Regions from separate parts of the Homo sapiens genome. Here regions 1 and 3 are each linked to region 2. Evidence: promoter capture Hi-C in human tissues and cell types (Jung and others, 2019). All regions are on one chromosome and are shown on one strand. Each heading gives the region's core, a stretch centred on a gene start or on the middle of the fragment in contact. The rest is flanking DNA. Distances are from core to core; before and after follow the strand shown. Region 1 overlaps STX8 (syntaxin 8). Region 2 holds the start of STX8 (syntaxin 8). Region 3 overlaps USP43 (ubiquitin specific peptidase 43).

What was found. Contacts are between HindIII fragments. The study calls those that stand out against the background at their distance.
Region 1: a fragment that was not itself captured here is called in contact with the fragment with the promoter of STX8 in region 2 in 1 of the 25 tissues and cell types used here (mesenchymal stem cells).
Region 3: a contact is called between a fragment that was not itself captured here and the fragment with the promoter of STX8 in region 2, in 1 of the 25 tissues and cell types used here (lymphoblastoid cells).

What each region holds. Positions count from the first base shown.
Region 1 is chr17:9,369,655-9,374,330 of GRCh38, reverse strand. The region is part of intron 7 of STX8 (syntaxin 8); the gene reads left to right. Among named protein-coding and RNA genes, the nearest start is that of STX8, 200 kb to the left of the region's middle. The HindIII fragment of the contact is 5,571 bases long and covers 129-4,676 here.
Region 2 is chr17:9,573,217-9,577,632 of GRCh38, reverse strand. It overlaps STX8 (syntaxin 8), which reads left to right and starts at 1,813. Exons shown (of 8, transcript NM_004853.3): 1 at 1,813-1,841. The coding sequence starts at 1,825. CFAP52 (cilia and flagella associated protein 52) reads right to left here and starts at 991. Exons shown (of 14, transcript NM_145054.5): 1 at 868-991. The coding sequence starts at 937. RefSeq lists enhancers at 729-858, 1,651-1,830. The HindIII fragment of the contact is 7,753 bases long and covers 1-4,416 here.
Region 3 is chr17:9,711,051-9,715,945 of GRCh38, reverse strand. It overlaps USP43 (ubiquitin specific peptidase 43), which reads right to left. Exons shown (of 15, transcript NM_153210.5): 14 at 3,814-3,978. Among named protein-coding and RNA genes, the nearest start is that of USP43, 68 kb to the right of the region's middle. The HindIII fragment of the contact is 7,150 bases long and covers 1-4,895 here.

The DNA of each region.
Region 1 (4,676 bases), core at 1,665-4,164, 200 kb after region 2:
GCATGTGGATCACCTGAGGTCAAGAGTTCAAGACCAACCTGGCCAACATGGTGAAACCCCATCTCTACTACAAATACAAAAATTAGCCAGGCGTGGTGGTACACGCCTGTAGTCCCAGTTGCTTGGGAAGCTGAGGCAGGAGAATCGCTTAAACCTGGGAGGCAGAGGTTGCAGTGAGCCGCGATCGTGCCGCTGCACTCCAGCCTGGGTGACACAGTGAGACTCCATCAAAAAAAAAAAAAAATTAATTGTGGTAAAATATATATAGCATAAAATTTACCATCTTAACTACATTTAAATGTACAGTTCAGTGGCATTAAAAAAAAGAAATTCTAGAGATAGAGTCTCACTTCGTGGCCGAGGCTGTCCAGAACTTTTTTTTTTTTTTTTTTAGATAGAGTTCTGCTCTTGTTGCCCTGACTGGAATGCAATGGTGCAATCTCAGCTCACTGCAACCTCTGCCTTCCGGGTTCGAGCGATTCTCCTGCCTCAGCCTCCTGAGTGGCTGGGATTACAGGCATGCGCCACCACATCTGGCTAATTTTGTATTTTTAGTAGAGACAGAGTTTCTCCATGTTAATCAGGCTGGTCTCAAACTCCCAGCCTCGGGTGATCCACCCTCCTCGGCCTTCCAAAGTGCTTGGATTACAGGTGTGAGCCACTGCGCCCAGCCACTTTTTTTAACATCCCAAACTGAAATTTATCCAAGACAATAATTCCCTATTCCTCCCTCTTTCAGCCCTTGGTAACTACTTTTCTACTTTCTGTCTCTGTAGATATGATTATTCTAGGTACCTATTGTAAGCGGGATCATATGTATACTTTTATATCTGGCTTATTTAGGGTGATGTCTTCAAGATTCATCCATGTTGTAGTGTGTATCAGAATTTCATTGCTTTGTAAGGCTGAATAATAATTCCATTTTATGTATATATCACATTTTGTTTATCCATTTGTCAGTGGACACAGGTTGTTCCACCTTTTGGCTATTGTGAATAATGCCACCATAAATGTTGCTGTACAAATAGCTGCTCAAGTCTTTCCTTTTTTGTGTATATATACAGAAGTGGAGTTGTTGGATAAAATGGTAATTCAGTTTTTAAATGTTTGAGGAACCTTCATATTAGCCTGGCTTGGTTTTGCTTTCAGCCTCTAAACTCTTAGGTACTTTCCAGTATTTTCTTTTTCTTTTTCTTTTTCTTTTCTTTTCTTTTTTTTTTTTTGAGATGGAGTCTTCTTGCTCTTGTTTCCCAGGCTGGAGTGCAATGGCATGACCTCAGCTCACTGCAACCTCCGTCTCCCAGGTTCAAGCTATTCTCCTGCCTCAGCCTCCTGAGTAGCTGGGATTACAGGCATGCACCACCACGCTGGGCTAATTTTTGTATTTTTGTTAAAGACAGAGTTTCTCCATGTTGGTCAGGCTGGTCTCGATCTCCTGACCTCAGGTGATCTGCCCACCTCAGCCTACCAAAGTTTTGGGATTACAGGCGTGAGCCACCGCGCCTGGCCCACTTTTCAGTATTTTCCTTAAAAAAAAAAAAAAAAAAAAAATGAGGGCTGGGCGTGGTGGCTCATGCCTGTAATCCCAGCACTTTGGGAGGCCGAGGCGGGTGGATCACAAGGTCAAGAGTTCAAGACCAGCCTGGCCAACATGTTGAAACCCTGTCTCTACTAAGAATACAAAAATTAGCCAGGCGTGGTGGTGCGTGCCTGTAATCCCAGCTAGTTGGGAGGCTGAGGCAGGAGAATCGCTTGAACCCGGGAGGCAGAGATTGCAGTTAGCCGAGATCATGCCACTGCACTCCAGCCTGGGCAAAAAAGCATGACTCCATCTCAGAAAAAAAATTAATAAATAAAAATAAAAATAATTTTTTTAATCTGATAAAGCCAGACACTTCTGTAGCCTGAGAGGGGCAGGCAAATGGGGTGGAAATTTAGTCCCTGGGCACCCACTCTAATTAGGAAATGTCATGGGAGACCCTTCCCACAAGAAACTGGGACCCCAAAGAGCTACACCCTCAGAGTAAAAGTGAACCAGAACTAAACTTACCATGGGGGGTTGTGGAAAGGGCAGCGTTGGCACTGAGCAGAATAGGAGAAGAAAAAGACGGGAGGGAAAATACAGTATTGACAACTTGTGGTCACAGAAAGGCCCACATGTGAATTTGCCCCCTGGACATACATACTCAGGGTAGACCGGGAAACATCATACCATGAATTTGGTTTGAGGCAGACTCACCTGTTATAGCTCGAGGTGCCTGGCAAAAACAAATGAAATGCCTCTGGAGGAAAGCATATTCTAGGATGCTAGGAGCCAACTAAAAATAAATTTCTAAGGGCAATGACCAGCACATAGTCAAATATATTCTAGCATACCCGGAAACAGCACAGCATGAGTGAGGACCAGCAATAGACCATGGACATGAATCTGAACAGAATTGCAGTAGTAGAATTATCAGACGTTGATTATAAACTCAATTCCACTTTTTAAAATATATTTTAAAAATGACAAGCTTGAAAGCATCTTAAGAAACCCGAAAACTATAATAAGTAACACAGAAATTTTGAAAAGGGACCAGATAGAACTTCTAGAAATAACAGGTAACTGAAATTAAAAAATCCAGTGAACATATTTGGTATCAGCAGAAGAAAGAATCAACCAGAGGACAAACCAGAAGAAAGAAAAAAAAAAAAAGCATAATCCATTTGATAAATGTTAGCATCTTGAAGAGAATGCCCAAATGCTAGGCAGTTAAATTATGATCTTAATAAGAAAGGCGTTTGAGGGGCAGAGGGTTGGTGCAAGAGCTTCGAGATACAGCGAAGAGTTAACCACCTGCTCTTCTCAAGTGCAAAGCCACATTGGCTGTTTTATATATGAACACATACAAATGCATAATCAAACTGCAAGCAAGGTGTACTTTAACTATAGGGGGTGGGAATTAAGCAGCCCAGTGGAGTGTAACTCAATTACCATTCACAGGGCAATTCTATCACTGTTTAAGAGGACTTGGGTGCAGTGTGGATAGCAGCCGCCACATCATCATTTTACACAAAGGAGTGTAAAAATAGGTTGTGAATCATGAAATGGCCTTTTGTTTCGCTACCCTTGGCATATCTTCCTTGATGGGCCGATGTATCAGTCATAGATGCTTGAGCAGTGAGAGAATTTCTAGTTATGAATACAGACTGAACTGCAAGGGGCCACACAGGAGAGAGGCCCGATGATGAATTTGTTTGTTCAGTTCTTAACAAGGGATTCAAGTACCTCTTTGTGAACCTTTCACTCAGGAGCACAGGCTTTAAAATTTTTACCGAGATTTTTGTGTGGATTTTCCTCCCTTTTCCTCCCTCAACCCCACCCCAATGATAGCATCAAGTAGAAAACAATACTGTTTTTTTTTTTTTCTAGCTTCTAAATGCAAATTAGACTGATATTTTTCCACTGGTACCTCTATGTATTTTCAGATCTGTTACTTCCATTAAGGACATTTACATAAAAGTAGGATCTTTGTAATTGCAGTTTAAATATTCAGTGTGCTTGGTCCTCATTAGAATTCAAAATAGAGCCTTGTCTGAGTCTGACAGAGGGCGCCAATTGTGAAAGACCAGACTAAGAATTCTGAATGACTCGGGTGGATGTACAGTCTTGCTTCTCAGCATATTGACTATTACGTAATGTTGTCTAAGCACGTTTATTGTGATTTTAGTAGTGTTTCAGTGATGTGGTTAGAAATCAACCCAGCTGACATTGCATTAATGCTGTCTCAATCGACGACCATTGGATCTGCCTTCAGCTCATCTGAATGTGATCTTCTTAGGGAGGTGGGGCAGGACCCTGGTTAAGAGTAGTAGCATGCAGCACAGGTGTGGCGTCCGACAGTCCTGGGGCACAATTTGGGATCTGCCACTTACAGCCTGGGTGACTTAGAGAGCTGCTTGCCCTCTCTAAGTCTCAGTTCCCTTCACTCTAAAAGGAGGATAGCAATTAGTAGTACATGTGATTGTTCTGTAGACTAAGTGAGAACAGTTAGGTGGCACAATGACTAGTACTAGTGAGTCCTTTATAAATGCCAGCTATGATAAGATGTGGGGTTTAATTCATTTTTGTTTTTTGAGATGGAGTCTTGCTCTTTCGCCCAGGCTGGAGTGCAATGGTGTGATCTCGGCTCACTGCAACCTCCGCCTCCTGAGTTCAAGTGATTCTCCTGCCTCAGCCTCCCAATTAGCTGGGATTACAGGTGTGTATCACCATGCCTGGCTAATTTTAGTATTTTTTAGTAGAGACGGGGTTTCACCATGTTGCTTAGGCTGGCCTCAACCCCCCAGCCTCAAGTGATTGCCTGCCTCAGCCTCCCAAAGTGTTGGGATTACAGGTGTGAGCCACCGCACCTGGCTTGCTTTTTTTCTTTTTTCTTTCTTTTTTTTTTTTTTTTTTTTTTTTGGTACAGGGTCTGTCTGGTCTGTCATCCTGGCTGGAGTGCAGTGGCACTCACTGCAACCTCCACCTCCCAGGCTTAAGTGAGCCTCCCACCTGAGCCTGCTGAGTACCTGGGACTACAGGCACTCGCCGTCATGCCTGGCTAATTTTTATTTTATTTTTTATAGACAGGATTTCACCATGTTGCCCAGGCTGGTCTCAAACTCCTGGACTCAAGCGATCTGCCTGCCTCAGC
Region 2 (4,416 bases), core at 564-3,063:
AGTCAAGAGCTAAGTCCTAGAGTATGCTTAAAACTTTAGACAGTGATTGTTCTGCATCCACATTCTTAAAGCTTTCAGGCATCACAACACACATTTTTGAAAAGTTTTGCTTCTCCTAAAATCTAATTCATTGTTTTCTCATCCCTCAAAAAACCAAAACCCCTCAAAACGAACAATAAAACCCCACAGCTTTTTCTTCCCAGAATCTTCAAAACAATAGGCAGTCACAAATAAGATTTCAGCGGAGCGGCCCAGTCCCTTTTTCTCTCCGCTTTAGCTCCCCCTGGCGTCCCCTTCCCCTTCTGTCCTGGTCTGAAATCCTCATCATTTAGAAACCTTCCTTAGGATTAGAGGACCAACAACATCCCCTCAGGGGGTTGCTCAAACACACGTTCCCTCCCAGCCCTTTCTCACTGGTACGCCAGTTGGGATTTTAGCAGATTTCCTAGCTGGTCCCAGGGGCCGACACAGACAGCATCCTTCTGTGTGGTTACGAAGGAGCCTAGGGCTTTGCGAGCGGCGTGGGGTTCAGAGCCAGGAAGGGCTGACCTAGTGGGAGAAGGGTTACAACCACCCGTACTCATCCGGCCCGCCTGGGGAAGAGGCATTTGGTCCCTTTTAGGTGCTGGCGCTTGTCCGAGCTGGTAAAAACCATCTCACTCCCTGAGGCTTGGATCGAGGAAGTGACTCTCCAAGGCCTTGGGGCAGGTCAGGCTGTGCGGGTCCTCCTGTGCGTGTCCCTGGCCAGGGCTCCTGCCGTTGTCCCACACTGCCTTTCAGGTGTCCCCGGTGTCTCACTATTCCTGTTTGCACTACACGTCCTCCGAATTCCTAAACCAGCCAGCCCAAAGATGCTGGAGGCCTCACCATTGAAGCCGATCACGGCGTCAAGTTCCAGCTCCGCCACTTGGGCCTCCGGCGAAATTTTGTTATCCATCCTTGGGAGGTTCTGATTACTTTGCTCTCCTCCCTAGTGGCTGCAGCGTCTTCTGGTCGTTATGGTAACGGACGAGCGCATGCGCTCCAGCTCCACGCCCGCGCAGAAACCCAGCCTGCCGAGTTCGAGTTCATTAGCATTCTTGGAAATGAAGGGGTATGGGGACTGGAAGAGAGATGGGGTGGGACTCCTCTTCTTTTTTTTTGTGCTATTTCTCTGGAAATTTAGGGGATGGCACTAACTGCGCAGAACTAATTCCTCCATCCCCTTGTGTAGAGTCTGTGACTTCTTAGTAACTCTAAAATCAAGCACCGAATGAATGGCATTTAAAAAATATGTAATCAGGCGTACAGGACTGATAGGAAGGCTGCTATAAAAAATATATATAATTGATACTTCTTTGGGCCCCTGTTTGGAGCAGTGTGAAAAAAATTTTAAAGATTTTTTAAAAAGCGTTGAGGTATAATTTACATATCATAAAGTTAACTTAAAGTAGGTTGTAGTGAGTTTACGCAGCGTGCAAGTCTCACCGCAATCTAGTGTTTTGTTTATTGTTTTGTTTTTGAAGCAGGATAAATTTTTAAGTAACTGCTACAGAGAGGTCTTGCAGCGCTCCCACCTTCCTGGGAAAATGCTTTGTTTCTATTTAACAATTTTAACTGAGCTTAGCAGTTCGCGTCTCTTGGTGGGAGTAGATTGCTCCAGTGTACTGTCCGCAGGGGAGCGCTTTGCTTTCTCTGATTATAGTTCTGAGGCCCTAGCTACTCACTTTGCAAACTCCAGGCTCCGGTCGCGCACGGGACGAACTGCGGGGAGTGAGCCGCGCGGGCCGCCGTAGTCAGCTGCTAAGAGCAGGAAGAGTCCGAGCGGCGGGCGGAGTCTGCAGGATGGCACCGGACCCCTGGTGAGTCCCGGGTGAGGGCGGCGGTGCGTGGAGGGACCTTCGGGGAGGCCGGGCTTCCGGAGAGCAGGCAATCACTTCGCATTGCCGCTGGTGGCCTTTCGGGATGAGGGGAGGGGCAGCGAGACCTTTCCTTTACTGAGGGGGCTCAGCCACATCCCGCCACACTTGGTCCTTGCAAGGGTGGCCCGGGAAGGAGACCAGGTGGTCCGCTGGAGAGCTGAGGACTTACGCCAAATCTCTGAATATTCCTTTAGCTTTTCTGGGCTGCATCTCGTTGCGGGGATTTCCCGCCCATCCTGGTTTTGGAGCTAGCTGGCTGGTGCAGGCTTCCCTGGACTCCTATAAAAGTGAAGTCGAAATAACGTTTTTGTAGCATGTCAGTCCATCCCGGTAAACCCCCTTATTTCACAGGTGGAGAAACCGAGGTTCAGAATCCATGGCCACCAGCCAGTTAGTAACCAGCTGGGGCTAAGACCTAGATCTTGGGGGCCCTTCCAGATACAGGAACCTGGGAGGGAAATTGTGCACTTGTTTATAAGGCATTTTGCACTTTCTTGAGTTAATATCATGAAGTCTTTTCCTTTAGCAGTAGCTTCTGCAGTAAAACAATAGCTGATAAGGGTGATTTATTTAGCAGTTAATCCCAAGGACTGCATGATGAAAGATGCAACTTTTGATCCCAAGGAACATATTGTTTGATCCCAAGGAACGTATTGTTATTGAACATAGACTTGACCTTTCTGCTTAATAATTAAAAACATATTACAGCTCTATAACGTTCTTGTTGGAATATGTGTCTTATGTTGTTATTTCTAATATAGTTTATAATTGTTTAAGTTGCCCACATCCTGGATATTAGAAGAATGGATTCCAAGAACAAAGTTGAGTTACCTGGAATCTAGGTTATTTGGGCCAATTATTTAATTTAGCATTTACTTTTTTAAACCTAATTTTAGGCCGGACGCGGTGGTGGCTCACGCCTGTAATCCCAGTACTTTGGGAGGCCGAGGCAGGCAGATCACCTGAGGTCGGGAGGTCGAGACCAGCCTGACCAACATGGAGAAACCCCGTCTCTACTAAAAATACAAAATTAGCCGGGCATGGTAGTACATGCCTGTAATCCCAGCTACTCGGGAGACTGAGGCAGGAGAATCGCTTGAACCCGGGAGGTGTAGGTTGTGGTGAGCTGAGATCGTGCCATTGCACTCCAGCCTGGGCAACACGAGCGAAACTCCGTCTCAAAAAAAAATAAAAAACCCCAAAATCCCTAATTTTAACAGTTATATACACCCCTTGATAGAGAATATTCAATTTAGAGAATATTGAAAATTTGCAAAAAGGAAAATAAATAGCATCTTTAACTCTATAATTTGGAAATAGCCATTAATGATTTTTTTACAATGAATTTGTTATTTTAATCTATATTTTTATATATATATATAATATAAACAGCATTTCTCTATGTCATTGGACATTCTTTGAAAGCATAACTTTCTTTTCTTCTTTTTTTTTTTTTTGAGACGGAGTCTTGCTCTGTCTGTCACCCAGGCTGGAGTGCAATGGCGCGATCATGGCTCACTGCAACCTCCACCTCCTGGGCTTAAGCAACTCTCCTGCCTCAGCCTCTGGAGTAGCTGGGACTACAGGCGCACGCAGCCACGCCCAGCTAATTTTTTGTATTTTAGTAGAGACAGGGTTTTACCGTGTTGCCTAGGCTGATCTTGAACTCCTGAGCTCAGGCAATCTGCCCGCCTTGGCCTCCCAAAGTGCTGGGATTACAGGTGTGAGCCACCGCACCTGGCCTCATAATTGTCTTATGTTGCAAAATAATGCATCACATGAATGACCATAATTTATTTTTCTCCTATTAGTTTTTTGTTTTTCTGATGTTTTGTTTTGTTTTATCATTGCAAAGGGAGTCCCTTTGTTCTATCTCTTATTTCCTTGGGCTCCCTGTCTAGAAGTAGGAATTAGAACTGTTGAAAGTGAAGCATTTATACTTTTTTTGTTATTCTCAATCAGTTTGACTAAGTGGCTTTCTCATTAGACTGTTGAAAGTGAAATAGAACTGTTGGGCTCAAGGGTATAAACATTTTTAAGGCCCTTGATACTGTGAACCCCAAAGTATCTGAGACAGGTCTCAGTCAATTTAGAAAGTTTATTTTGCCAAGGTTAAGAATGCACCCATGACACAGCCTCAGGAGGTTCTGAAGACCTGTGCCCAAGGTGGTTGGGGAACAGCTTGCTTTTATACAATTTAGGGAGAATAATACATGAATTAATACATGTAAGATTTATGATGGCTCAATCCAGAAGGGAGGGACACCTCGAAGGGCGTGGGGGGCTTCCAGGTCATAAGTAGATTGAAAAATTTTCTGATTGGCAATTGGTTGAGTTATTATCAATAGAAACGAATGTCTGGGTTATGATAAGGGGTAGTGGAGACCAAGATTTTATTATGCAAATGAAGCCTCTGGGTAGCAGGCTTTAGAGAGAATACATTGTAAGTGTTTCTTATCAGACTTAAGGTCTGTATTGACGTTAATGCTGGTTGGCTTTTCCTGAATTCCAAAAA
Region 3 (4,895 bases), core at 579-3,078, 140 kb before region 2:
CACACAGAAACACACACACAGACACATATACACAGATACATATACATAGACACACAGAGACACACACACAGATACACAGAGACACACACAGACACATATACACAGATACATACACATAGACACACAGAGACACACAGATACACAGACACACACACACAGAGACACACACATAGACACAAACACGCAGACACATACCTACAGAGACACACACACACACACACACATACACACACAGAGACACACACAGACACACACACATACACACAGACACACACACAGGCACATACACATAGAGACACACACACAAGAAACACACACACAGACATACACTCACAGAGACACACACACAAAGACACAAACACACAGACACACACACAGAGACACACACACACAAAGACACAGACACACACACAGACATACACACAGGCACAAACACACATACACAGACATACAGTTCTTACATAGTAATGCTGGTTTTTTTGTTTGTTTTTTTGAGACAAGGTCTCACTCTGTCACCCAGGCCGGAGTGCAGTGGTGTGCTCACAGCTCACTGCAGCCCTAACTTCCCAAGCTCAAGAGATCCTCCCACCTCAGCCTTTTGAGTAGCTGGGACAACAGGCACATGCCACCATGCCTGGCTAATTTTTTATAGAGATGGGGTCTCACTATGTTGCCAGGGCTAGTCTTAACTTCTTGGACTCACGCGATCCTCCCACCTTGGCCTCCCAAAATGCTAGGGTTCCAGGCGTGATCTGACAACGCTCAGCCTTAAGGACTTTGTTTCTGTGGTTACCCCCTTGTTCCCAGCACTGTCATCAACATCTCCCTGTAGACCTGATCATCTGAATGCGTCTCTACTATCTCCTACTTAGCTGTCAACCCGCCTTCCTTCAGTCACCTCGCCTGCTGGAGTGTGTACACACTGCCACTTCCTCCACCCCAGCCTCTGGTCCACCTGCTGCAGGCAGGCCTCCCTTCTCTCCAGCCATGGCAGATGCTCCTGGCAAGTCACCGGTGGCCTTCCAGCCTGATGGAATCTACCCATCCTCACCTTACTCAGCCTCTCAGCAGCATCCAGTACAGTTGGCTGCTTCCTTAAGATTCTCTTTTTTTCATCTGTCAACCACACTCACCTGGTTTTCTTCCCCTCACTGGCTGCTCCTTCTCCGTTCTTTTCTTGGCCTCTCCACCTTTGCTCAACCCTTAGATGTTGGAGAGCCCCCAGGTTTGGTCTCGGGTCTTCATTTTTTTTTTTTTTTTTTTGAGATGGAGTCTTGCTCTGTTGCCCAGGCTGGAGTGCAGTGGTGTGATCTAAGCTCACTGCAACCTCCACCTCCCAGGTTCAAGCGATTCCCCTGCCTCAGCCTCCTGAGTAGCTGGGATTACAGGCGTGCGCCACCATGCCCAGCTAATTTTTTTTGTATTTTTAGTAGAGACGGGGTTTCACCATGTTGGTCAGGCTGGTCTCGAACTCCTGACCCCATGATCTGCCCACCTCGGCCTCCCAAAGTGCTGGGATTACAGGCGTGAGCCACTGTGCCCGGCCTTCATTCTTTTTCATCTGTACTATTTCCCCAGGGGAGCTCAGCCAGCACTGTTCCATCCATGTGCTGATGACTCTCAAATATTTCTCTCCACTCCCCAGTTATCACATTGATGTGATGTCTTAGCAGGGTCCCCCAACCCCTGGGCTGTGGACAAGTACTGATCCACAGCCTGTTAGGAATCGGGCCACAGAGCAGGAAGTGAGTGGTGAGCAAATGAGCGAAGCTTCATCTGTATTTACAGCTGCTCCCCATCACTCGCATTACCGCCTGAGCTCCGCCTCCTGTCAGATCAGCAGGCGTATTAGATTCTCATAGGAACACAAAGCCTATTGTGAACTCTGCACGTGAGGGATGTAGGTTGCATGCTCCTTATGAGAATCTCATGCCTGATGATCTGAGGTGGAACAGTTTCATCCCAAACCATCCTCACCTCAAGTGTGTGTAAAAATTGTCTTCCATGAAACCGGTCCCTGGTGCCAAAAAGCCTGGGGAATGGTGTCTTACAGGATTTTCAAAATTACTGTGTCAAAAAATTCTTGACTTCCCTCCAGAATGGAGTGTTCCTACCCAACTTTCTCCCACCTCATTAACTGTGCAGCAATTCCCCTCGTTATTTAGACCTTAAGCAAGGAGTCATCCTTGACTATTCTCTTTCCTTCACACTGCACACCCCACATCAGCAAATCTTAGCAGCTCCAGCTTCAGTATACATCCAGTTTGACCATCTCTTATCTAACATGCTAGTTCAAACCACCACTGTCTCCCACCTGGATATAACCATGTTAGTCTCCTGAATGATCTTCCTACGTCCCCACTCTTGCCCCCTGTGATGTCTTCTCCACACAGTAGCCAGAGTAGACTCTCTACAAACTATAAATCAGATCAACCACTTCCCTGCTCAAAACTCTAAGCTAAAAAAGTTGATTTTATGGAGGTAGGGAGTAGAATGATGGTTGCCAGAGGCCGGGAATGGGGGCAGATGAAGAGAGGTGGGTTGATAGGTACAAATAGGCCAGGTGCGGTGGCTCATCCCTGTAATCCCAGCACTTTGGGAGGCCGAGGCAGGCAGATCACGTGAGGTCAGGAGTTTGAGATCAGCCTGACCAACATGATGAAACCCTGTCTCTACGAAAAGTACAAAAATTAGCCAGGCGTAGTGGCAGGCGCCTGTAATCCCAGCTACTCTAGAGGCTGAGGAAGGAGTATTGCTCGAACCCGGGAGGCAGAGGTTGCAGTGAGCCGAGATCATGCCACTGGACTCCAGCCTGCGACAGAGTGAGACTCTGTCTCAAAAAAAAAGTACAAATATACAGTTAGATAAAATAAGTTCTCATGTTTAATAGCACAGGAAGGTGACTACAGTTACCAACAATATATTGTATATTTCAAAACAGCTAGAGAGATTTGAAATGTTCCCGTCACAAAGAAATGATAAATGTTTGAGGTGATGTATATTCTAAATACCCTAGTTTGTATGTAATGAACACATTGTACGCATGTATCAAACTATCATATGTACCCCAAATATATGTACAATTATTATGTGTCAATTTTTTAAAAACAATGATTAAAGCAGAAGCATTAACAAACAAACAAACAAACAAACAAACAAAAACACCTCTCCACTCGCTATCCACTACACTTAGAATAGAGTCCAAACTTTATACCTCTAGCTCAGAAAGGTAGGTTCTAACATGGCCCCTGTCCACTCCTGCTCTCTCTACTCCTGGGTGTCTCTGCTCCAGCCACAGCTCTGGTTTCTTCTGCCCCTCACACATCCAATGCTCACTCCCAGCCTTCACCCTGGAGGGCTCCTCTCCTGGAACATAGCCCTAGGCTTCTACACAAGTCACTCTCTCTCACTCAGAGCTCTGCTCAGTGTCACCCCCTAGAAAGATGTTACCCGCCCGTCCTATCTCCCGGGCCCTGTGCACCCTCCCTCCTCCACCCCGGGCCTGAATACCCTCTTCCCTGATTCTCTTTGCCATTCTCCCTTCTTTAAGTACCATGTTCCCAGGTTTACTTGCTTATGACAATAAGCTACACGGGGGCAGAGAAAAGGTACCTGTGGCTGGAGGGTAGAGGATGGGGAGAAGCGGGCAAGGAAGGGCAGGTCATAGAAGACCCCATTTAAGAGATGAACAAACCTCTCGTAATGATGGACCCTTTCCATTCAAGACTACGAAGTGACAGCGCTTTCATACTGAGCAATAACAACAGACATTACAGAAAATGAAAATCAACCAAGCACATTTAACCAACATACCCTTTTCCTGATTGCAGAGGCTGTTGGTGAAGATGGGAGAGTCAGGAACCTGGGGCAGGGAGGGGCAGGGGGCAGAGCTCCAGGACAGCAGGCTTCCCCTTGTGCTGCCAGCGTGGCTCCCGAGCCGTAAGAGCCAGTGATCAGACAGGGAGGAGCTGGTAGAGCCTGTGGAGGAAACACAGAGAGGGAGGCTGAGCCCAACCCCAGCACTTCAGAGTCCTAGCGGAGCATCTCACAACCAGATCCCCATTCCGGCCCCATCCTTCAGCCCCAGAACTACAGAACCAGAACAGAACTGCAGAAACCTGTCAACAAGGAGAGGGGAAACCTGTGATCGGGTTTCCCATGTGACTAAGCTTAAAAGTTTAGGGAGAGGCATTTGAGCACAAAAAGGAAAGCATGGGCTGGGCGCGGTGGCTCACGCCTGTAATGCCAGCACTTACGGAGGCCGAGGCGAGCAGATCACCTGAGGTCAGGAGTTCAAGACCAGCCTGACCAACGTGGTGAAATCCCATCTCTACTAAAAATACAAAAAATTAGCTGGGCGTGGTGGTGGGCGCCTGTAAATCCTAGTTACTCAGGAGGCTGAGGCAGGAGAATTGTGTGAACCTGGGAGGCGGAGGTTGCAGTGAGCCGAAATCGCGCTACTGTACTCCAGCCTGGGCAACAAGAGCGAAACTCCGTCTCAAAAAATAAAAAACAAAACAACAACAACAACAAAGGAAAGTATGTTGACAAGTTTTGAAATGCTTTCCATGAAATTACTTATCACCAGCTTTGGCATTCTAAATATGTTTTTTGTTTCTTTTTCCAGAGCCAAAGTACTGTATTACTCAGAGCTGTAGTCAGAGGCAGAGTAACAGTATTTTATTACCAGTACCAGGGCCCCAGCATGCACAGTTCAACAGGTAATAAGCCATGTTACAGGAGTTTATCCCAAGTTTAGGGAAACCAAATCTTTTACAGTGGGCATTAAGGATGCCTACACTTTGCACCATAAAGATACATTATCTTTATTATACTGGACAGTAAGAAAAACTTCTTTTCTCTAATAGGACAGGTTTTTCATTCTTTTTTCAACA